4 separate regions of the Homo sapiens genome follow, and regions 1, 3 and 4 are each linked to region 2. The links are contacts of gene promoters, found by promoter capture Hi-C in blood cells and fetal thymus (Javierre and others, 2016). All regions are on one chromosome and are shown on one strand. The core of a region is centred on a gene start or on the middle of the fragment in contact, and the rest is flanking DNA. Distances in the headings are between cores, read along the strand shown. Region 1 overlaps HTR3C (5-hydroxytryptamine receptor 3C). Region 2 holds the start of CAMK2N2 (calcium/calmodulin dependent protein kinase II inhibitor 2). Region 3 overlaps ABCC5 (ATP binding cassette subfamily C member 5). Region 4 holds the start of HTR3E (5-hydroxytryptamine receptor 3E).

Region 1 (5,641 bases), core at 2,123-4,622, 200 kb before region 2:
AACCCAAAAGAGTGTGTTGGCATCAATAAACTCACAGTATTAGCTGAAAACCTGTGGCTCCCAGACATCTTCATCGTGGAATCGTGCGTATGCAGGCTGGGGAAGCCAGCGTGAAACCTCATCTGCCGAGAACAGCCTAGGGTCAGCACAGGGCATGGGGCCACCGAAAGATTCAGACAGGCACACAGTCTCAACGAACTGACTTCCACACATCACTACGAGTAGAAGAGGCGAGAGAGTGACATTAAAGAAAGAGCCCAGGGCCAGGCGCGGTGGCTCACGCCTGTAATCCCAGCACTTTGGGAGGCCGAGGCAGGTGGATCACCTGAGGTCAGAAGTTCGAGACCAGCCTGGCCAACATGGTGAAACCCCCATCTCTACTAAAAATACAAAATTAGCCAGGTGTGGTGGCACATCCCTGTAAATCCCAGCTACTTGGGAGGCTGAGGCAGGAGAATTGCTTGAACCTGGGAGGCGGAGGTTGCAGTGAGCTGAGATTGCACCACTGAACTCCAGCCTGGGCTACAAGAGTGAAACTGTCTCAAAAACAACAAAAAAATAAAAATAGAAAGAGAAAGAGCCCAGAAGGAGAGCACAGCAGGGGAGACCCCAGAAGGAAGGGAGACAAGAGCTGATTAAGCCTCCATCTCTTCCCTCCCTTCCCCAAACAGCATGGATGTGGATCAGACGCCTTCCGGTCTCACTGCCTATATCAGCAGTGAAGGTCGAATTAAGTATGATAAGCCAATGAGGGTGACCAGCATCTGTAACCTGGACATCTTCTACTTCCCTTTTGACCAACAGAACTGTACCTTCACCTTCAGTTCTTTCCTCTACACAGGTAAGTGTGACACATTTTGGTAGCTGTTTAAGATTCAGGGAAGACATTTGAGTGGTGTAGGTATCATTAGAAAAGGTTTTGGATCAGTGTTGCTCCACTCCGGTGGCCTAACAAAGCTTTTTGAAAATACCAATAACTGGCCAGGCACAGTGGTTCACACTGTAATCTCAGCACTTTGGGAGGCAAAGGTGGGACAAACGCTTGTGCCCAGGAGTTTGAGACCAGCTTGGGCAACATAGTGAGACCCCCATCTCTACAAAATATAAAAAGAATTAGCCCCAGCTACTTGGGAGGCTGAGGCAGGAGGATTGTTTGAGCCAGAGAGGCTGAGGCTGCAGTGAGCTGTGATTGCACACTGCATTCCAGCCTGGGTGACACAGTGAGACTCTGTTTTTAAAACAAAAAACAGGCAGGGCGCAGTGGCTCACGCCTGTAATCCCAGCACTTCGGGAGGCCGAGGTGGGCAGAACACGAGGTCAGGAGATCGAGACCATCCTGGCTAACACAGTGAAACCTCATATCTACTAAATATACAAAAAATTAGCCTGGCCTGGTGGTGGGCGCCTGTAGTCCCAGCTACTTGGGAAGCTGAGGCAGGAGAATGGCGTGAAACTCGGGAGGTGGAGGTTGCAGTGAGCCGAGACTGCACCACTGCACTCCAGCCTGGGCGACAGAGCGAGACTCCGTCTCAAAACAAAACAAAACAAAACAAAACAAAAAACAAAAACAAAAGCCTAATAAGCGCACATCACCCCAGATGCCGATTAAATTGTTCCAGGTGGGGCCCAGGTGATGCTAACGTGCAGACGGGGTTACGACCTGCTGCTTTACAAGCTGAGTGGCCCTTGTGCCAAATGAGGCCCAGCTGACTCTGAGCTGCTGCACACCTATAATTTTTAGCTCAAATCTTTTAACTCTAATAGCTAACACACTTAAAAACCGGTAAATTAATATAACCGAATGCCACCAGGTGTCATGTGGCAGATTTGGATAAACTAAAACCATCAAAATGGGCATGCCTATAATTATTAAAATATTGAGCTATTCAAGCTTGATTCCACTAAAACACCACCATACGACTGGGGGACTGAGAAGGAAAATAGGAATGACTCCAAAAGTTCTTGACTCACGTTTCAGTCATATCCAATATTCCCATAACGAACTTGACTCACTCTTGTTTTCAACAACAAAAGAAATTAATGCCGCTGCCCACACACATATGAATTGCTAGTCGGGTAACCCACTTCTGAGAAAACCAGGATACCTTGCTTTAAAAGGATAGAGGAAAATTTGGTTTAGAAGCTCAGTGGGGGAGGACTCCAATTTCGTGGGCGGGAGGCTTGGGAAAACGTCTGCAATGAACTGACCGGCCTCCCTTCCAGTGGACAGCATGCTGCTGGGCATGGACAAGGAGGTGTGGGAGATCACAGACACGTCTCGCAAAGTCATCCAAACCCAGGGGGAGTGGGAGCTCTTGGGCATCAACAAGGCCACCCCAAAGATGTCCATGGGCAACAACCTATATGACCAGATCATGTTTTATGTGAGTCCAGGGGCCCCTGTTTGACTTCTGATCCCAGCAGCTCTTTGATTGTCCTCTTGACCTATGGCTCTTTGGGAAGCAAAAAAGAAGCTCCAGGCCGGGTGCAGTGGCTCACACCTGTAATCCCAGTACTTTGGGAGGCCGAGGGAGGCGGATCATGAGGTCAGGAGTTCAGGACCAGCCTGGCCAACATGGTGAAACCCCGTCTCTAATTTAAAAAACACAAAAATTAGCTGGGTGTGGTGGCACATGCCTGTAGTCCCAGCTACTCGGGAGGTTGAGACAGGAGAATCACTTGAACCCAGGAGGCGGAGGCTGCAGTGAGCTGAGATAATGCCACTGCACTGCAGCCTGGGCAAGACAGAATAAGACTCCGTCTCAAAAAATAAAATAAAATAAAAATAAAGCTCCAGAGGGTTGGGCACCTGCTCCCCACTGCCCCATCTACCTAATTGCCCTGAAGCAGGATCCCCAAGGCCTCCCCCACTCCCCATTTGCCCACTCCTCATTCACCCACTCCTGCTCTGGAGAGGGCAGGAATGGCTGGACTGTAATAAGCCCTGCTGCTCAGAATGGATCAGCTCACCCCTACTGCTCAGAATGACTTAAAGGGCCCACTTGCACCTAAAATTCTACAGTCATTGTGTTCCTAGTAGGTTAAAAATGAATAAAAATTAGACAACAAATCAGAGGCCCCTATGTAGGCGAGCACAATTATATGCAAAAGTGTTACTTAAAAAGATCGTCCCCAGCAGCCTCACAGCACATTGGCAAAGATTAGGGGTCAGATATACAAATTGAGCCCTCTGACATCTATTTATTTGCCATCTTCTCCGGTCTCTCTCCAGGTGGCCATCAGGCGCAGGCCAAGCCTCTACATCATAAACCTGCTGGTGCCCAGTAGCTTTCTGGTTGCCATTGATGCCCTCAGCTTCTACCTGCCAGCAGAGAGCGAGAATCGTGCCCCATTCAAGATAACACTTCTGCTGGGCTACAACGTCTTCCTGCTCATGATGAATGACTTGCTCCCTGCCAGTGGCACCCCCCTCATCAGTATGGCTCCTCCCACTTTCAGGAGGAGAAAGGGCACCCGGGGCCAGGGAGGAGGGCCAGGAGAAATGGCCGCTGCTCCACTGAAGGAAGGAAGGGGCTGTGAAAGAAGATTGGATTTAGGAAAGAGGCGTGAGGAATGCTTAGAGATAAATTTGCCTGGTTTATTTATAATTTGCTCTGCCCTCAGGTGTCTACTTCGCCCTGTGCCTGTCCCTGATGGTGGTCAGCCTGCTGGAGACCGTCTTCATTACCTACCTGCTGCACGTGGCCACCACCCAGCCCCCACCCATGCCTAGGTGGCTTCACTCCCTGCTGCTCCACTGCACCAGCCCAGGGAGATGCTGTCCCACTGCGCCCCAGAAGGGAAATAAGGGCCTGGGTCTCACCCTCACCCACCTGCCTGGTGAGGGAAGCCAGCACTGTCCATACTCGCCCTTCACACTGGGCCCAGCACTCCTCTAATCCTGTCCCCTTCCCACTCCATGACTGAGCCTCTGTCCTCTCCACAGGCCCAAAGGAGCCGGGGGAGTTAGCAGGGAAGAAGCTGGGACCCAGAGAGACCGAGCCAGATGGGGGCTCAGGATGGACAAAGACCCAGCTAATGGAGCTGTGGGTGCAGTTCAGCCACGCGATGGACACCCTGCTCTTCCGCCTCTACCTGCTCTTCATGGCCTCCTCCATCCTTACTGTCATTGTCCTCTGGAACACCTAGGCAGACATCCCCCCTCTCTGGCAAACAACAGCTTGGAGTTTCTGCTGGTCTTGGGCCAGCCGGACTCATTTTCCTAATCTTAGCCACTTATCCCCAGTGACTACCATGTCCCCTTCTAAATTCCAAAGACTCCAACGCAGCACTAGCAAGCAGGTTCGGGACAGCCCTGGACGATTTCCCGACCGCTGCTCAGGCTGCTCATTCCTGCTCACCCTCAGTCTCCCTGAGCTACCACCTAACTCCTCACTCCCTGATCAATGGAAGTCCAGGTCAGTGGAGTCTCTCCTTGATTGATCACCCCAATAAACAACTTTCCAGGAAGCACTGGCTCTTCAGTTTGTTTGTTTGTTTGTTTGTTTGTTTGTTTATTGAGACAGAGTCTCACTCTGTCACCCACACTAGAGTGCAAATGATGCCATCTCAGCTCACTGCAACCTCCGCCTCCCAGGCATGATTCTCATGCCTCAGCTTCCCAAGTAGCTGGGATTACAGGTGCACACCACCACACCCAGGTAATTTTTGTATTTTTAGTAGAGACAGGGTTTTGCCATGTTGGCCAGGCTGGTCTGGAACTCCTGACCTTAAGTGTTCCGCCCACCTCGGCCTCCCAAAGTGTTGGGATTACAAGCGTGAGCCACCTCGCCCAGCCCTCTTCATTATATTTATTATAAGTCTACAAACTCTGCGGTGGAGAGTCCTCTTGCAGAAGCTTTGATACTTCCCCCTAAGCAGGTGTAATCTGATGTGATTTTAAGGGTTTTAGATACTTTCAGAGTTTTATAAGAATAAGAAGGCCAAGTCTTATTTGCAAGAAATTATTTCATTTGCAATAAAATATTTACAAATGCAAAATGTTCCTTTCAGCAACCATTTCTTTTTCACTTTCCTTTACCTCTCATTCCTGAAATTGCTCTTTGAAATAAATCATATCTTGTGTCATTCTTTTTTATTCTAACAGGTTTCTCTTACTTCACAACATCAAACAGAGCGGGCTTTCTAAATATGTGTGCTTGAGGCTGGGGGGTTCATGCCTGTAATCCCAGCACTTTGGGAGGCCGAGGAGAGAGGCTAGGAGTTTGAGACCAGCCTGGGCAACAAAGCGAGACCTTGTCTCTACAAAAATAATAATTAACTAATTAATTAATTAAAAATTAGCCAGGTGCAGTGGTACATGCCTGTAGTCCTAGCTACTCGAGGGACTAAGGTAGGAGGATCGCTTGAACCCAGTTCAAAGTTACAGGGAGCCACGATCGCACCCTTGCAATCCAGCTTGGGCAACAGAGCAAGAACCAGTCTCTTAAAAATAAAATGAAACGAAGAAAGGTTTTTTAAGTTCCCTGTTAATAGTAGTTCACAGCAGGGCTCGGTAGCTCACACCTGTAATCTTAGCACTTTGGGAGCCCAAGGTGGATGGATTGCAAGGTCAGGAGTTCGAGACCAGCCTGGCCAATATGGTGAAACCCCATCTCTACTAAAAATACAAAAGCTAGCT
Region 2 (5,806 bases), core at 328-2,827:
GGCCGCCGTGGTGCTGAAGCGGACAGCTCCGGAGTGCCTGGCGGCGGCGGCGGCACGGCCCTGCAGCCCCCGCCCGCGGGCGCCTGGGCCGGGGCGGGGGGGCGCCGGCAGCCGCATCGCCGGCCCGCGCTCCTGGCCGCTGCGAGGCTGGGCCCGGAGCCCGCCGCCCGAGCCGGCGCGTCTACACTCCGGACGGCGGCTTCTCCCCCATCCCCTTCAGCACGTCGTCTATCCGGTCATCCTCGATCACCACTGCGCAGGGAGAAAGCGCGTCAGCCGCGCGGCCTCGGGGGGCGGCGGCGATGAGAATGAGCCCCGCGTCCTAGCTTCCCGCGCAGCTACTGCCCGTGGCCCAGCGACGCCCCTCGGAACCCTGTGCCGCGGTGTCCTCCCCGTCCGAACTCTTCTGGAGACCCAACCCGCCGCCAAGCCTAGACCCCCTCCCCTCCCGATGGCGGAACGCCCCTCTTCCAAAGGCTCCAGCTATTCTCCCTCCCAGTGCGAGCCCTCCTGCCACCTGAGCCTTCCTCCCTCTGAGTTGATCAGAAACCTCTTGCTCACGGAATCCCCCTCTTCAACCCGCACTTCAACAGATCCCCCTGCTCAAATGGGGCTCAAACCGAGTATCCAGCTGGTCCAGCCCTCTCCTCAACCTGAGCCCTCTCGCCGCTGGAACCCCTCTTCCGATCCTGGCACCAACAGAGCTCCCCTCCCCATGCAAACAACCAAGACAAGCGGACCCCCGGCCTCCTGCCCTCTCTTGTTAGACGTCCCTCTCGACCCGAAGGTTCTTCGTATTGTCCACCGACTCAGTATTTGATCCCAAAGAATCAGCCCGTTACCCCGTGCTCCCACTTCCGTGCAGCCCCAAATGCCCCGACCGGCCCCTCCCCCTCGCCCGGGTGCCAGGGCTCTGCTTCCAGAGGTGGCGAGCATCGAATCCGGGGCACCGTGTTCCCGGGAGAAGGGAAGAGGGGGACACACACTGCAGCGGGGACCCCCCCCTCCAGCCCGGGCTGGAGAGCGGCTGGTGCGCTGGTCTGCGGCAAGAGCTGCGGGCACTCGGCGGGGAACGGCAGCCGGGGGGCGCCCGGCGGAGGGTTTCTGGGTCAGGCGGCGACTCCGGGCCCGGGCCGCGTACCTCGCTTGGCTCGGCCGATCTGGCCCAGCTTGGGGGGTCGCTTGGCCTGGTTGCCCGCGAAGAAGGAGTTGGTGTCCTGCAGGCGGCAGCTGAAGGAGAGGTCGGAGCCCTCGGGGTCTGCGCCGAAGCGGCCCATCTTGTCTTCGCTGTAGGGCAGGATCTCGGACATGGCGGGCGCGGGGTGGGCGCGGGGCGGGAGCGGGACTGCGGCGGGGCGCGGGCGGCGGGCTTGCTGCCGGACCGGCCCTACCTCAGCAGGGGAGCCGGCGGAAGGATGAAGTCATGCAGCATCCGGGGCTGAGGAGCCAAGCGGGGCCTCCTCCCCCGCGCCTCCGCCTCCCGGGCCGCTGGGCAGGCGGCGGCGGCGGCGGTGGCGGGGACCGGGCGGGGGCGGGGGCGGGGGGCGGGGGTGGCGGCGGCGGCGGCAAGAGCGGAATGACGATGAGCGCCCGACTGCGGCAGAGCACGGCGGGCGGGGCGCGGTGGAGGCGGGGCGGGCACTGGCCAGGGGAAAGAGGCGGGGCCGGGGGCAGGAGCGCGCCCAGCTACCCCGGGAACAGAGGCAGCTGGAGTGGGAGGTTCCCGCACTGTGGCGGGGAATGGCCAGCACGTGGGTCTTGGGGAATAGTACCAGCCAACCCGGCCGGGACCTCGCGGGGAGGGGCGGGACCGAAGGGGGGTGGGATCGAGCCTGGTACTGGAGGAGCTTGGAGGAGGGTCTGACCCCTAGGCTGGGAGAGGCGTGCAAGGGGGACTGGGAGCAGGAGGGCAAAAGCTGGCCGGGCGCGTTGGGGCGGGAAGGCGGCCGCAGGGCTGGCAATGGAAAGCGGGGAGCGGGAAATGCGCGGGGAGGAGACTCGGGTACAGGGTGACTGGGGAAGGCACGAACCCACAGCGCGGGAAGAGCTCGGGCCAGTGGGATGGTGCCCTTGCCGCTGACGCGCTCTTGTACTAGTTGCTCTGCTGGTCTTAAGTAGATCGTCAGGGTCCGTGCGCCTCTGAGTGCCGGTCTGTGTCTCTGTCTCCGCCTTTGTGTGTGTCAGTCCATCTCTAAGTGTCTGTATCTCTCTGTCTCTGTGCCCCGTATCTCTTTCGCTGTGTTATGGCCTTTGTCTATGCCTGTCCCTTAAGTGTCTGCCTTTCTCTATCTATCTCCATTCTTGACTCCTGTATCTCTGTGCCAGTGTCTCCGTCTCCTGAATCTGGGTATTTCAGTCTCTCCTAGGAGGGGTCTATAGAAACTGGGCCGACGCGCGCGCACCAGGGCAGACACCCCCAGCCCTAGTCCGGTGGCTGTAGCCCCCCGCGGCTCTGGAGTGGTGCGCTCGCAGTGTAGGAGGAATGAATGGCGGCGTCGCGGGGGGCGCCCTGGGCTGCGGGTGACGCGGGGAAGCTCGGAGCACCTGAGGACGCGGAGCGCGCCAGTGTGTGCCCCGAGGGAGTGCGGTAGAGATGGAGGGTGCCCCCCGCCCTCGTTGCTTTGGACCACGGGTGAGTTCTCGCCTCACCGATGGGAACATGCCCTCTTCTCCCCTTGCCTCCCGCCCCCACAACCCCCGCCCTGGCTGGCCGTCACCCGCGGCGTCACCTGCTTGCCAGCGCGCAGGAGCTCTGGCGCAATCACTGGCCTTGGGGAGGAGGGGGTGTCTCACATGCGGCGACAGTGACGGCAGCGCTGAAAACGGTAATGATCACCCTGTACGTTCATTCCACACTCCAGGCGAACGCGCTTTCCTTCCTTAATCTGGCCAAATTACCAAATCACACAGCTGGTGAGGCTGCCTTGTAGTGGGTCTCCTTCCAACACTTTCTCGCCAGGTGTTAATACCGGAGACACAGGGACAAACGCAATGGTGGCTGCCCAGGGAACTGGATGGGGGGGGCGGTATGCCACAGGATACCTTGATGCCAGCCTCACTCAAGGGCCCAGGCCTGGGGGCCCATCACTATGAAGCCCTCCTCTGCTCTGTCCTAGTCTCCGGGATGAGGGCCACAGCTGGAGGTGGAGGCCCAGCCTGGAGTGAGAGGAGCCCTGAAACTGGAAGGACAATAAAGGCGGAAGACTGGGGTCACTGGAAGAGAGTCCAGAAAATTCCACATACACTGGAAGTTGTCCAGTAATGGGTTCCAATCCTGACTCCCACTTTCTCAGTGACCTTGAACTGAAGGACCCATAATCATGGTTTTAAAAAATTAATTCGTTTGTACTTAAAACATTTTAGGAGGCCGGGCTCAGTGGCTCACGCCTGCAATACCAGCACTTTGGGAGGCCGAGGTGGGTGGATCACCTGAGGTCAGGAGTTTGAGACCAGCCTGATCAACATGGCAAAACCCTGTCTCTACTAAAAATACAAAAAAAATTAGCCAGGTGTGGCACACACCTGCAGTCCCAGCTACTTGGGAGGCTGAGGCACAAGAACCGCTTGACCTAGGGTGGCAAAGGTGGCAGTTGGCGGACATTGGGCCATTGCACTCCAGCCTGGGTGACAAAGCGAGGCGAGACTCCGTCTCAATAAAAGAAAGAGAGAGAGAGAGAGAGAGAGAGAGAGAGAGAGAGAGAGAGAGAGAGAAAGGAAGGAAGGAAGGAAAAAAATTTTAGGAAAATTAAGAAAATCACATAACATCTTTTTTTTTTTTTTTTTTTTTGACACGGAGTCTTGCTCCGTTGCCCAGGCTGGAGTGCAATGGCGCGATCTTGGCTCACCATAACCTCTACCTCCCAGGTTCAAGCGATTCTCCTGCCTCAGCCTCCCGAGTAGCTGGGACTACAGGCACACGCCACCATGCCCAGCTTTTTTTTTTTTTTTTTTTTTTTTTTTTTTTTGAGATGGAGTCTCACTCTGTCGCCAGGCTGGAGTGCAATGGCGCCATCTCAGCTCACTGCAACCTCCCCCTCCTGTGTTCAAGTGATTCTCATGCCTCAGCCTCCTGGGTAGCTGGGACTACAAGTGTGTGCCACCACTCCCAGCTAATTTTTGTATTTTTAGTAGAGACAGGGTTTCACCATGTTGGCCAGGATGGTCTCAATCTCTTGACCTCGTGATCCGCCCACTCGGCCTCCCAAAGTATTGAGATTACAGGTGTGAGCCACTGCGCCCTGCCAGTCTTTGTATTTTTTGTAGAGATGAGGTTTCACTATGTTGGCCAGGCTGGTCTTGAACTCCTGACCTCGCGATCCGCCCGCCTTGGCCTCCCAAAGTGCTGGGATTATAGGCATGAGCTACCACACCCGGCCTTATAACTATATATATATATATATATCCTTCTAGTCTTTTCACCATGTGTCTGCATGATATGATACCTCTGTAAGCCCCATGTTCTAGTCTGAAGCATGGGGATGATAAAACCTACTTATTAAGGAACGTTTTGCTGGGCAACATTCATGGCTCACACCTATGAATTCCGCCACTCAGAAGGCTGAAGCAGAAGGATCGCTTGAAGCCAGGAGTTGGAGACCAGGCTGGACAACATAACTAGGCCCCATCTCTAAATAAATAAGTAAATAAATAAGCAAGCCGGGTATGGTGGTACACACCTGTGGTCCCAGCTACTTGCAAGGCTGTGGTAGAAGGATCACCTGGGCACAGGAGTTTGAGGCTGCAGTGAGCCATAATGGTGCCACTGCACTCTGGCCTGGGTGACAGAGCAAGACCCTGACTCAAAAAAGAAAGAAAAGGACAGTTTTGTAGATGAAACTGTCCTGGGGTAAAGTGGGTTGTCTCGGGAGGTAGTGAGCTGCCCCTCACCTAAAATGCCAAAGAAGAGGCATGAGGGTTCTTGCCAAGGATGAGATAAGAGTATTGTGTGAGGAATTGAAACAATTCTCCTTTCTCTCTGCACAATGAGGGAGATTGGAAAAATGACAGTTTAATCCAGAATTCACTTGGTTACCTCCTTCTTAAATAATTATATTCCCGTCCCGGCCGTGCCTGCTGGATCATGGTTAAAGCAAAAGTCCTAAGTACAAACCTGTGGACTATTATGATATATAAGCTTCAGCTATGTTGTAAAAATGTGGGGATTTCTTTAAATTCTGCTCCTCTCTTTAAAATTCTGATATTCTGCTTCCTTCCCATGAGAGGAAAATACATTTTCACTAAAATGAAATAAAGCTTGTATAGAGTTGCGTGACAGTGCATTGAGTCTCTCAATTGGAAGTCCCTCAAACCTAGTATACTTGTCCACGTGCTCTACACAGATAACATGCCTTTTGACAATTGAGTATTAGTGACACTTTTAGTCAAGTGGAAACTGTAGACCCCTGTAGTGGATTGAATAGGGACTCCCACAACAATTCAATGTTCACCTGTAACCTCAAAGTGTGACCCAGGGCCAGGTGCAGTGGCTCATGCCTGTAATCCCAGCACTTTGGGAGGCCAAGGCGGGAGGATGACTTGAGCCTAGGAGTTCAAAACCAGCCTGGGCAATATAGTGAGACGCCATCTCTACTAAAAAAAAAAAAATTAGTTAGGCATGGTGGTGCATGCCTGTAGTCCCAGCTACTTGGGAGGCTGAGGTAGGAGGATAACTTGAGCACAGAAGCTAGTTGACAGTGAGCTATGACTGTACCGCACTGCACTGTAGCCTGGGTGGCAGAGCAAGACCCTGTCTAAAAAAAAAAAAAGTGTGACCTTATTTGGAAATAGGGCTTTTGCAGATACAATT
Region 3 (5,082 bases), core at 1,525-4,024, 250 kb before region 2:
TACAGTAAAAATCAGGAAAACAGTACTCAAATTTCAAAGTTTAGGGGCAGGGTGTGGTGCCACATGCCTGTAATCCCAGCACTTTGGGAGGCTGAGGCGGGAGGCTTGCTTGAAGCTGGGAGTTCAACAACAGCCTGGCCAACAGTGAGAGTGCCTCTACAAAAAAACAAACAAAAAAAATTTAATAAAAAATAAAAGTTCATGGCCAGATGTGGTGGCTGACGCCTGTAATCCCAGTACTTTGGGAGGCCAAGGCAGGCGGATCACTTGAGCTCAGGAGTTCAAGACCAGCCTGGCCAATGTGGTAACAGAGAACAGCAGGTAGGCACCTGCTGTTTAGGAGGCTGAGGCAGGAGAATTGCTTGAGCCCGGGAGGTGGAGGTTGCAGTGAGCTGAGATTGCACCACTGCACTCCAGCCTGGGTGACAGAAGGAGACTTCGTCTCAAAAAAAAAAAAAAAAAAAAAAAGTTTAGGAAACATGAAAGAATAATAAAAATAAAATTCATAAAATTCATGTGGATTCCTGAAATTTTATAAAAGTGGTATTAGCCTTCATATTTCTCTGAGATAAGGCTTCAGTGGCATGTTGAAAACCTGCTACAGTGGTGGCTGACTCCATATCCTTTAGGGTACTCAAAGCCCAGCGGTGCCTACCTGCTGTTCTTCTCCACTTCGTAGAGGAAAAGCTCGCTGCTGCCACTGCAAACCCTGATGTCAACTCTACTCTCACAAGCTGGGGACCCTATCCCCAGAAATTTCACAGGACCACACACCAGCTCCACAGCCTCCACCTTCTCCTGCTCTGCAAGCCATCCTTGGGTAAGCCTGCTCACTCTCACAGCTTCACCTATGTGGACACACTAAAGGCTCTAAATGTTTTTTCCTACACTACTTCTTGTCTATGCTCTACCTACTGATAATTTTACCCATATGCACTTCAAATTCAACATCTTCAAAATCAAAATCATTCTTCTTCTTTTTTTTTTTTTTTTGGAGATGGAGTCTCACTCTGTTGCCCAGGCTGGAGTGCAATGGCGCGATCTTGGTTCACTGCAACTTCCGCCTCTCAGGTTCAAGCGATTCTCCTGCCTCAACCTCCCAAGTAGATGGGGTTTCACTGTGTTGCCCAGGCTGGTCTCAAACTCCTGAGCTCAGGCAATCCACCAGCCTCGGCCTCCCAAAGTGCTAGGATTACGGGCGTGAGCCACCGTGCCCGGCCCAAACTCATTCTTAATATCTCCCCAATCTCCTTTTCTTATGTCCACGAATAGGTTTAAATCCTTACCATCAATCCCAGACACCCCAATGCCTCCCTATCTTCTAGAAACGCCTTTCCTCCATCCTCACTTCTGTGCTTTACAACAGAACCCTGGCCTCTCTGACATGGATAGGCAGAGCCGCTTCCTGAATGCTCTTTATATTTGGTCTCTTTCTCCTGTACAGGTTTTTTTCTGCATTGCTTCAAGACTAATCTAAGATAAAAATCTACTCTCAAACATCGTAGCCATTAGGGAACTGCAAATTAAAACCACAATCAGATACCAGGCACATCTATAGGAATGGCTAAAATAAACATTATAACATTGAGTACTGGCAACAATGTGGAAAAACTGGATCATTGCTGGTGGGAATGTAAAATGGCACAGACACTCTGGGAAAGAGTACTGCAGTTTCTTACAAACTAAATATGCACTTACCATATGACCCAGCAAGCGCAGTCCTGGGCATTAATCCAGAGAAATAAAAGCTTATGTTCACACAAAATCCTGTAACTGAAGGTTCAGAGCACCTTTATGTATAATTGCCATTAACTGGAAATGACCCATATGTCCTTTAACAAATGAATGGTTAAAGAAGCTATGGTACATCTATAACACGGAATGCTACTCAGCAATACAAAGGAAAGAACTATTGATGCACACAACAAAATTAGATGGCTATCAAGGGAGTTCAGCTGAGTGAAAAAAGCAATCTCGAAAGGTTATATACTATATGATTCAATGTATATAGCATTCTTAAAATGACAAAATTACAGAAATGGAGAAAAGATTAGCAGTTGCCAGAGACTGGGGTTGAGGGGACATGACTGTGGCTATAAAAGGGTAACGAGAGATCCTTGTGATGGAACCTTTGCATCCTGACTGTGGAAGCGGTCACACAAATTTACACCTTTAAAAAATGCATAGAACACAACACACACACACACACACACACACACACACACAAATGAGTGCATATAAAACTGGTGAAATCCTAAAGTCAATGGATTGTATCAATGTCAATCATTATCCTGTTGTGATACTGGACTATAGTTATGCAAGATGTTACCACTGGGGGAAACTGGATGAAGAATATATAGGATCTCTATATTATTTTTTATAATTGCATGTAAATCTACAGTTAGCTCAAAATAAAAAGGTTTTTTTTTTTAATCTCATTAACTTCCAATAGTTCCCTAATGCCCACAGTGAAATATTTCTTAGCATGGCATGCAGAATTTCACCCGACCTATAATCTCTTTACACATCCTATGCCCTGAACAACTAGTTCTAAGAGCTAACATTTATTGAGCACTGGCCATGTGCCAGGTACCATTTTAAATATTTTATATGTATTATCTCATTTACTCCTCAGTGATCCCATGAGTCAGGTACTACTGTCAACCCCATTTTATATACAAATGACGTAAGTAGCTTATCCAAAGTCCCAATATGTCACACGCTCTTTCCATACCTTTGGGTCTGTACTTGTACCGCCTAAAAAGCCTCCCCACCTAATCACCCTTTAAGGCCCTGCCCCAATGTTACCTTCTGACTTTTTCCAGACTTAACTGTTACACTAAATGTGTCTAGCACTCAGATGTAATGGATAGATGTTTAATCAACATAAGGTCTAGACAAAAGGACATGAGGAAGTTATAAAACTGGCACCACGAGAAGCATTTGACACTGATTACATTAAGCCTGTTTCTCTGAAGTTAAACCTGAATGGAAAAGCATTCTATAATACACAGTAGGGTACAGAAAAGACTCATTAGCAAGAAAATGTTCATTAATAAAGCAATGGCTTTAACACAACCAAAGAGGGAAAGGTAGTATCAGGCTAAGGAAAGGCCAGTGTCAGCTGCAAAGTCCATTATCTTTCTCAAATTTTCACATAACAAATACACCAACAAAAACCTCAACTTCCTAAACCTAGTCCATTCTGCCTTATTAGGTACTTTTGTAAGAAAAGGTATAATGCTTTTTTTCCTCAGGAAAAAGAATATTTTCTCGAGGTAAAAACGCATCTTCATTATTTCCCTTGGAGGAAATTAGATTATTATCTAAAGACTGCTTAACTTATGAATTCGCTTGAAAAACATACTGATAATCCCACAACTATCTAGAATTGTTCTGAAATCTGAGTCTCTCCAAAGGATTCACATTTTATTTTATTTTTTATTTTTTTGGAGACGGAGTCTCACTCTGTTGCCCAGGCTGGAGTGCAGTGGCGTGATCTTGGCTCACTGCAACCTCTGCCTCCTGGATTCAAGCAATTCTCCTGCCTCCCTCCTGAGTAGCTGGGAGTACAGGTGCCCACCACCACACCTCACTAATTTTTGTATTTTTAGCAGAGACAGGGTTTCACCGTGTTGGCCAGGCTGGTCTCAAACTCCTGACCTCAAGTGACCCACCCACCTCAACCTCCCAAAGTGCTGGGATTACAAGCATGAGCCACTGTGCCTGGCCAGGTTCACATTTTAAACACACATGACAGAAAGTAGAAGAAAACACCAATTTTGTTTAGGTACATGAATGAAGCTTAATTGGCTTTATATTCCCTGTCATTGACCCCATGACCCCCTCCCCCTCAATAAGTTGTCTTCTGTTAAGTATAGCCTTTTCAGAAGGCACCAACATAGAATAAAAGTGAAAAAGAGGAGAATGCTCAGAACAGACCGGGTGAGAGGGTGACAGCCAGCCTCTCTTCCACTTATTGAGTGCTTACTATGGACCAGAGACTTATCAATAACCATAAATTCTTAACAGTAACCTAAAGCCAATAAAGAAAAACACATTTTTTTTTGAGACTGAGTCTCGCTCTATCGCCCAGGCTGGAGTGCAGTGGCATGATCCCAGCTCACTGCAACCTCCGCCTCTTGGGTTCAAGCGATTCTCGTGCCTCAGCCTCGCAAGTATCTGGGATTATAGGCGCCCGCCACCACGCCTGGCTAATTTTTGTACTTTTAGTAGAGACAGGTTTTCACCATGTTGGTCAGGCTGGTCTCGAACTCCTGACCTCAGATGATCCACCCGCCTCAGCCTCCCAAAGTGCTGGGTTTATAGGCGTGAGCCACCGCGCCCGGCCAAAAAATAAGTTTCTAAATTACCCATTATACGAAAAAAGATGTGTTTTAGTACAACAAGCAGGTAAGAGACTCTTAGGAAAGGAAACTGACCGGTCGAGTTCTCCTGAACTTGGAATCTTCACGGTCTCTGTGCGTCCCAGAAGTGCTGGTTCTCTCCCTCACACTTCTATACCCAGGACTGGGGATGATATACTCTTTTCCTATGTCGATATCCTTCATCTTCTCTGAGTGGAGGTTCCAGGGCTCACAGACTGTTAGTTTCACATCAGAATTCCTGAAATTAAAAATTCATCAAGAAATAGATTATTTCCTAAACAGTACTTAACCATAAGCTCAAGTGCCTTAAAAATAGGAAAAAAAAAAAAAAGGCAAAAGTACTAAAGCTTTCTACTGTTATAGCTACAAAAATTAATTTTCAAAAAAAGTTCAAAGATTTTGATTTCATTTTTTTAAAGAAAAAGATTCAGTATAAGAGAATCAAGAAAAATTACCTTCTCCCAACTCTAAGGGAAAAAAAATTAGAAACAGTAAACACACTAGTAAAGAGACACCCATTCTCTTCAACTAAGCTCAAATCCAGTGTATACAATAGAAAGGTTGGTTTTTTTTTTAAAGACTTTCTAGAAACAATTTCAGTTTGTCCCAAGTATTAAAAACTCCACAATTTTAAAGTGGACATCATTTCTTCTACTAAATTTTACTAAATAAAAACTTACCAAACACTTATTCT
Region 4 (5,062 bases), core at 1,320-3,819, 160 kb before region 2:
CAGACTTTTCAAGTAGTAGTATTGGGAAAACTGGATATCCATATGCAAAGAAATGAAGTTTGACCCTTACCTAAAACCATATACCAAAATTAACTCAAAATGGATAAAATATTTTACATGTAGGGCTGGACGCGGTGGCTCACTCCTGTAATCCCAGCACTTTGGGAGGCTGAGGCGGGCAGATCACCTGAGGTGGGGAGTTCGAGTCCAGCCTGACCAACATGGAGAAACCCCGTCTCTACTAAAAATACAGAATTAGCTGGGGGTAGTGGCACATGCCTGTAATCCCAGCTACTTGAGAGGCTAAGGCAGGAGAATCACTTGAACCCAGGAGGTGGAGGTTGCAGTGAGCTGAGATCATGCCATTGCACTCAGCCTGAGCAACAAGAGTGAAACTCCGTCTCAAAAAAAAAAAAGAAGATTTAAGTGTAGACCTAAAACAATAAAACTCCTAAAAGAACACATAGGGAAAAAGCTTCAAAACATTGGAGTTAGCAGTGATTTCTTGGATATGACACAAAGGCATAGGCAACAAAAGAAAAAATAGACAAATAGTACTTCATGAAAATATTAAACATCTATGAATCAAAAGACACTATTAACAGAGGAAAGAAGACAACCCACAAAATGGGAGAAAACATTTGCAAATTATATAGCTGATAAGGGATTAATATCCAAACTATACATAGAATTCCTGAAACTCAACAACAAAAAACAACTTGATTTAAAAATGGGTAAAAGGTTAGCCATAGTGGTTCATACCTGTAAATTCCAGTGATTTGGGAGGCTGAGGCAGGAGGATTGCTTGAGGCCAGGAGTTCAACACCAGCCTGGGCAGCATAGCAAGGCCCTGTCTCTAGAAACAATAAAAAAAAATTAGCCACACATGGTGGCATGCACCTGTAGTCCCAGCTACTTGGGAGGCTGAGGTGGCAGGATTGCTTGAGCCCTGGAGTTCAAGGCTACAGTGAGCTATGATCATACCACTGTACTCCAGCCTGGGAGACAGTGAGACCCTGTCTCTAAAAAAAACAAAACAAAACAAAAAGCAAAACTCAGTGGACAGATTAGACACAGCTGAGGGCCGGGCACGGTGGCTCACGTCTGTAATCCCAGCATGGTGGCTCACAGTTGAGGGCCAGGCATGGTGGGAGACAGTGAAACCCTCTCTCTAAAAAACAAAAAAACAAAAAAACAAAACCAAAACTCAGTGGGCAGATTAGATGGACAGATTAGACACAGTTGAGGGTCAAGCACAGTGGCTCACTCCTGTAATCCCAGCACTTTGGAAGGCCGAGGTGGGCAGATCAGCTGAGGTGAGGAGTTCAAGACCAGCCTGGACAACATGGTGAAACCCTGTCTCTAATAAAAATACAAAAATTAGCTGGGTGTGGTGGCACAAGCCTGTAGTCCCAACTACTCAGGAGGCTGAGACAGGAGAATCGCTCAAATCAAGGAGGTGGAGGCTGTAGTGAGCCAAGATCACGCCACTGCACTCTAGCCTGGGCAACAGAATGAGACTCCATCTCAAAATAAAATAAAATATGGAAGGCATCCATACTTGCATTTTGCATTCTTCGTATGTAATCATATTGTCAAAGACAAATTATGTCATAATCTATTGTAAATAACACTTTTCCCCAGACCTACCATAAAGTTTCTGCAATGTATTGTCTTCCAGTTGCAATAAAAATTACTGAGTTTCATCAAAAATTAATTAATTAATTAATTAAAATAAACACAGTTGAGGAGAGAATTTTTTTCCTGGAAGCTAGATCTGAAGAAATCATTAGGGACAGAGATAAAGAGGTAGAAAATAGGAAAGAGAGGTGTGCTAGGCAGAATAACGGCCCCCAGAATTTGTCCACATCCTAATCTCTGGAACCTTAGGTTATATGGAAAAGGGGAGTTAAGGTTGCAGATGGAATTAAGGTTGTTAATTATCGGACTTTGAGATGGGGAGACTATCCTGGATTATCCAAATGGACACAATGCAATCACAAAGGCTCTTATAAGTGGAAGAAGGAGAGAGAAACAAATAAGAACCAGAGAGATGAGATGCCTTGTGAGAAACATTGGCCTGATGTTGCTGGTTTTGAAGATGGAGAAGTAAAAATAATGAACCAAGAAATACAGGCAGTTTAAAAGCTGGAAAAGGCCGGGTACAATGGCTCATGTCTATAATCCCAGCACTTTGGGAGATCAAGGTTGGAGGATCACTTGAGGCCAGGAGTTGGAGACAAGCCTAGGCAACAAAGCGAGACCTCATTTCTACTAAAAAAAAAAAAAATAGCCAAGCTTGGTGGCTCACACCTGTGAGGTCCCAGCTACTTGGGAGGCTGAGACGGAAAGATCCCTTGAGCCCAGGAGGTCAAGGCTGCAGTGAGTCGCGATTGCGCCACTGCACTCCAGCCTGGTCAACAGAGTGAAACCCTGTCTCAAAAAAAAAAAAATCTGGAAAAGGCAAGGAAATGGATTCTCCTCTAGAGCCTCCAGAGGGAATGCGGTCCTGCTGACACATTCATTTTAGCCCAGTGAGACCCATTTCAAACTTCTGGCCCACAGAACAGTAAAATAACAAATTGTGTTTATTTAAGCCACTGGGTTTGTGATTTGTTACAACAGCAATAAAAGGCATGTAAGATAGAAGGAAACCATTCAACACATGTCTAATAAGAAAAATAGAGGAAGTGAAACATTTATAAATGTCTGAGAATTTTCCAAAATTGAAGAGATGAGTCTTCAGACCAAGGGATCTCACCAAGATCTGCAAGTTGATCACGTATGAACTATCTATAACCATTTACGTTGCAGTGAAATACCTAAGACTAAGATAAAGTCTTAAAAGCAGACTGAACCTTAAGCATAGGCAAGAACAAGACAACCAGAACACTCTTTGAAGGAAGGTTACAAATGTCAGTGGTCAACCAATGCTATTAGTATTCAAAGTCAGACTCTAGGTGTGGCCTGTGCTGCTTTAATCTGGGCATTCCTGGGTCCCAGTACATGTTCAGAGAAGAACTTAGACAAAGAAGATGGAAGGAAGCTGGTTCCACAGGAAAAGATTTTCCTTCTACCTCCTTCTCGGTTTTCTGCTTCAAGGTAAGAAAGGAGCAATGATGGGGGAAGGCGGAAGAAGGAGGACCTCTCTCTAGTAGAACATCTAGGAACTTTTTTCAAATTTCCAACTCCTAGAGATTGTCTAAGATGGATAGAGTTCTTTCATAGCTACATTACTAAGATGCCCACATAGACTTTCCTTTTCTGAAAGACGGAAAATCCCCTTCCAGTTACATGCCAAACAAGAGCACTTTCATTTTCCTTCTCGAAAAATAGAGTTCAACACCAGCAAACTTTATCCTTTCACATATGGATATCCAGTTTTCCCAATACTACTTGAAAAGTCTGTCTTTTCTCCATTGGTACCCTACATGGAAGACAACCATCCACGATCGTCTTCTCTTGTATTTAGCTTCTATATCCATCCATCTTTCTATCCACAGGTGTAATTCTTTCTCTCTACAGGTATGAAACCCAAACCATTGTAGCAAAGTGCCCACCTCCTTTAGCCATAATTTCCCTGTCCATCTGCTGGATCCAAGGGCTCTAGGTTAGGTAAGGTGCCAGAAGGCAGCAGGTCAAGGGTGAAAGTAGAATGTGCTTCTCTTCCAGGGGGTCAGCATGGTAGAGAGACAAGAACATGGGATTTGGAGACAGGTGGACCTGGGTTTGAATCTTGGTGTCTCACGTTGCTAGTTTTATAAACTTGGATGCACTGCTTAACTTATCTGAGCTCTGGTTTCCTCATCTGTAAAACAGAACCTACCTTGCAGGGTTGTGAGGATTCAGTAAGAGAAGGAGGGAAGCACAGTGTCTGGCACTTGGTAAAAGTGCCAATAACTGTCATCTCTCCTCGTTAGATTATTCCATGACTTTGGATAAGGAGGCACAGGAGAGGACTGAACCAGAGGTGACTTTAAAGGCCAGCACAGGGAAGAGACACAAATTGTACACCTGGTCTAGGCAGTGTAAATGGTTATGAAAGCTCCTCTGGGCACTTGCACACAGGGGTTGACAAATGAATATTCACTGTTCTTAGAGTGGTTTAAGAATTTGCTGGAAAGCACTGTGACGTTGGGAATGGATAAGGCTCAATGTCCTTGGCACAGAGGTTATCAACCATCTCTCTCAGTCCAAGTTGTTGCTCCTCCAACACATTTTCATGACTAGAAAATTTAAAAATTTATTAGTTAGAAGAGGGTGGGACGGGTCAGGTGAGGTGGCTCACACCTGTAATCCCAGCACTTGGGACGCTGAGGCAGGCGGATCACCTGAGGTCAAGAGTTCAAGACCAGCCTGGCTAACATGGTGAAACCCCATCTCTACTAAAAATACAAAAACTAGCCTGATGTGGTGGTAGTGCCTGTAATCCCAGTTACTTGGGAGGCTGAGGCAGAAGAATCGGTTGAACCTGGGAGCCAGAGATTGCAGTGAGTCAAGATCGCACCACTGCACTCCAGCCTGGGTGACAGAGTGAGACTCCCTCTAAAAAAAATTTAAAAATTTAAAAAAGAAATTAAAAAAAAATCCCACCCACACTTCTAAAAATAGCTATGTGGCTAGGAATGGTGGCTCACACCTATAATTCCAGAACTTTGGGAGGCCCAGGTGGGAGAATCACTTGAGCCCCGGGGTTTGAGACCAGCCTGGGCAATATAGTGAGATCCCCGTCTCTACAAAAATTTTTTAAAAAAATTAGCCAAGTGTGGTGGGGAACGCCTGTAGTCACAGTTACTTGGGAGGCTGAGGTGGGAAGATCCCCTAAGCCCAGAGGCTGAGGCCAAGTGATTGCGCCACTGCACTCCAGCCTGGGCAGTAGAGTGAGTCGCTGTCTCAAAAAACCCCCAAAAACCCCAAACTAAGAAATATGCACAATTAGGCCGGGCACGGTGGCTCACGCCTGTAATCCCAGCACTTTGGGAGGCCGAGGCGGGTGGATCATGAAGTCAGGAGATTGAGACCATCCTGGCTAACAAGGTGAAACCCCGTCTCTACTAAAAAT

What was found. Contacts are between HindIII fragments. The CHiCAGO score rates a contact against its expected background, and 5 or more counts as called.
Region 1: a fragment that was not itself captured here is called in contact with the fragment with the promoter of CAMK2N2 in region 2 in 1 of 17 cell types (M1 macrophages); the score reaches 5.3 in M1 macrophages.
Region 3: a fragment that was not itself captured here is called in contact with the fragment with the promoter of CAMK2N2 in region 2 in 1 of 17 cell types (endothelial precursors); the score reaches 5.9 in endothelial precursors.
Region 4: a contact is called between the fragment with the promoter of HTR3E here and the fragment with the promoter of CAMK2N2 in region 2, in 6 of 17 cell types (M1 macrophages, M0 macrophages, endothelial precursors and 3 more). The highest score is 15.6, in M1 macrophages.

The regions. Positions count from the first base shown.
Region 1 is chr3:184,056,204-184,061,844 of GRCh38, forward strand. HTR3C (5-hydroxytryptamine receptor 3C) reads left to right here. Exons shown (of 9, transcript NM_130770.3): 4 at 1-83; 5 at 672-841; 6 at 2,224-2,384; 7 at 3,233-3,437; 8 at 3,625-3,840; 9 at 3,947-4,470. The coding sequence ends at 4,149. Among named protein-coding and RNA genes, the nearest start is that of HTR3C, 6.0 kb to the left of the region's middle. The HindIII fragment of the contact is 2,967 bases long and covers 1,890-4,856 here.
Region 2 is chr3:184,259,976-184,265,781 of GRCh38, forward strand. CAMK2N2 (calcium/calmodulin dependent protein kinase II inhibitor 2) reads right to left here and starts at 1,578. Exons shown (of 2, transcript NM_033259.3): 1 at 1,142-1,578; 2 at 1-252. The coding sequence starts at 1,310. The coding sequence ends at 182. The region is part of intron 2 of EEF1AKMT4-ECE2 (EEF1AKMT4-ECE2 readthrough); the gene reads left to right. RefSeq lists enhancers at 1-232, 233-784, 2,670-3,432. The HindIII fragment of the contact is 12,942 bases long and covers 1-5,132 here.
Region 3 is chr3:184,009,822-184,014,903 of GRCh38, forward strand. It overlaps ABCC5 (ATP binding cassette subfamily C member 5), which reads right to left. Exons shown (of 30, transcript NM_005688.4): 2 at 4,443-4,626. The coding sequence starts at 4,571. It overlaps ABCC5-AS1 (ABCC5 antisense RNA 1), which reads left to right. Exons shown (of 3, transcript NR_046570.1): 2 at 630-820; 3 at 1,445-1,598. LOC124909468 (a long non-coding RNA gene) reads right to left here and starts at 130. Exons shown (of 2, transcript XR_007096191.1): 1 at 4-130. RefSeq lists an enhancer at 585-1,784. The HindIII fragment of the contact is 2,056 bases long and covers 1,747-3,802 here.
Region 4 is chr3:184,094,495-184,099,556 of GRCh38, forward strand. It overlaps HTR3E (5-hydroxytryptamine receptor 3E), which reads left to right and starts at 2,570. Exons shown (of 9, transcript NM_001256613.2): 1 at 2,570-3,102. The coding sequence starts at 3,036. It overlaps HTR3E-AS1 (HTR3E antisense RNA 1), which reads right to left. Exons shown (of 3, transcript NR_133658.1): 3 at 624-856. The HindIII fragment of the contact is 4,461 bases long and covers 2,297-5,062 here.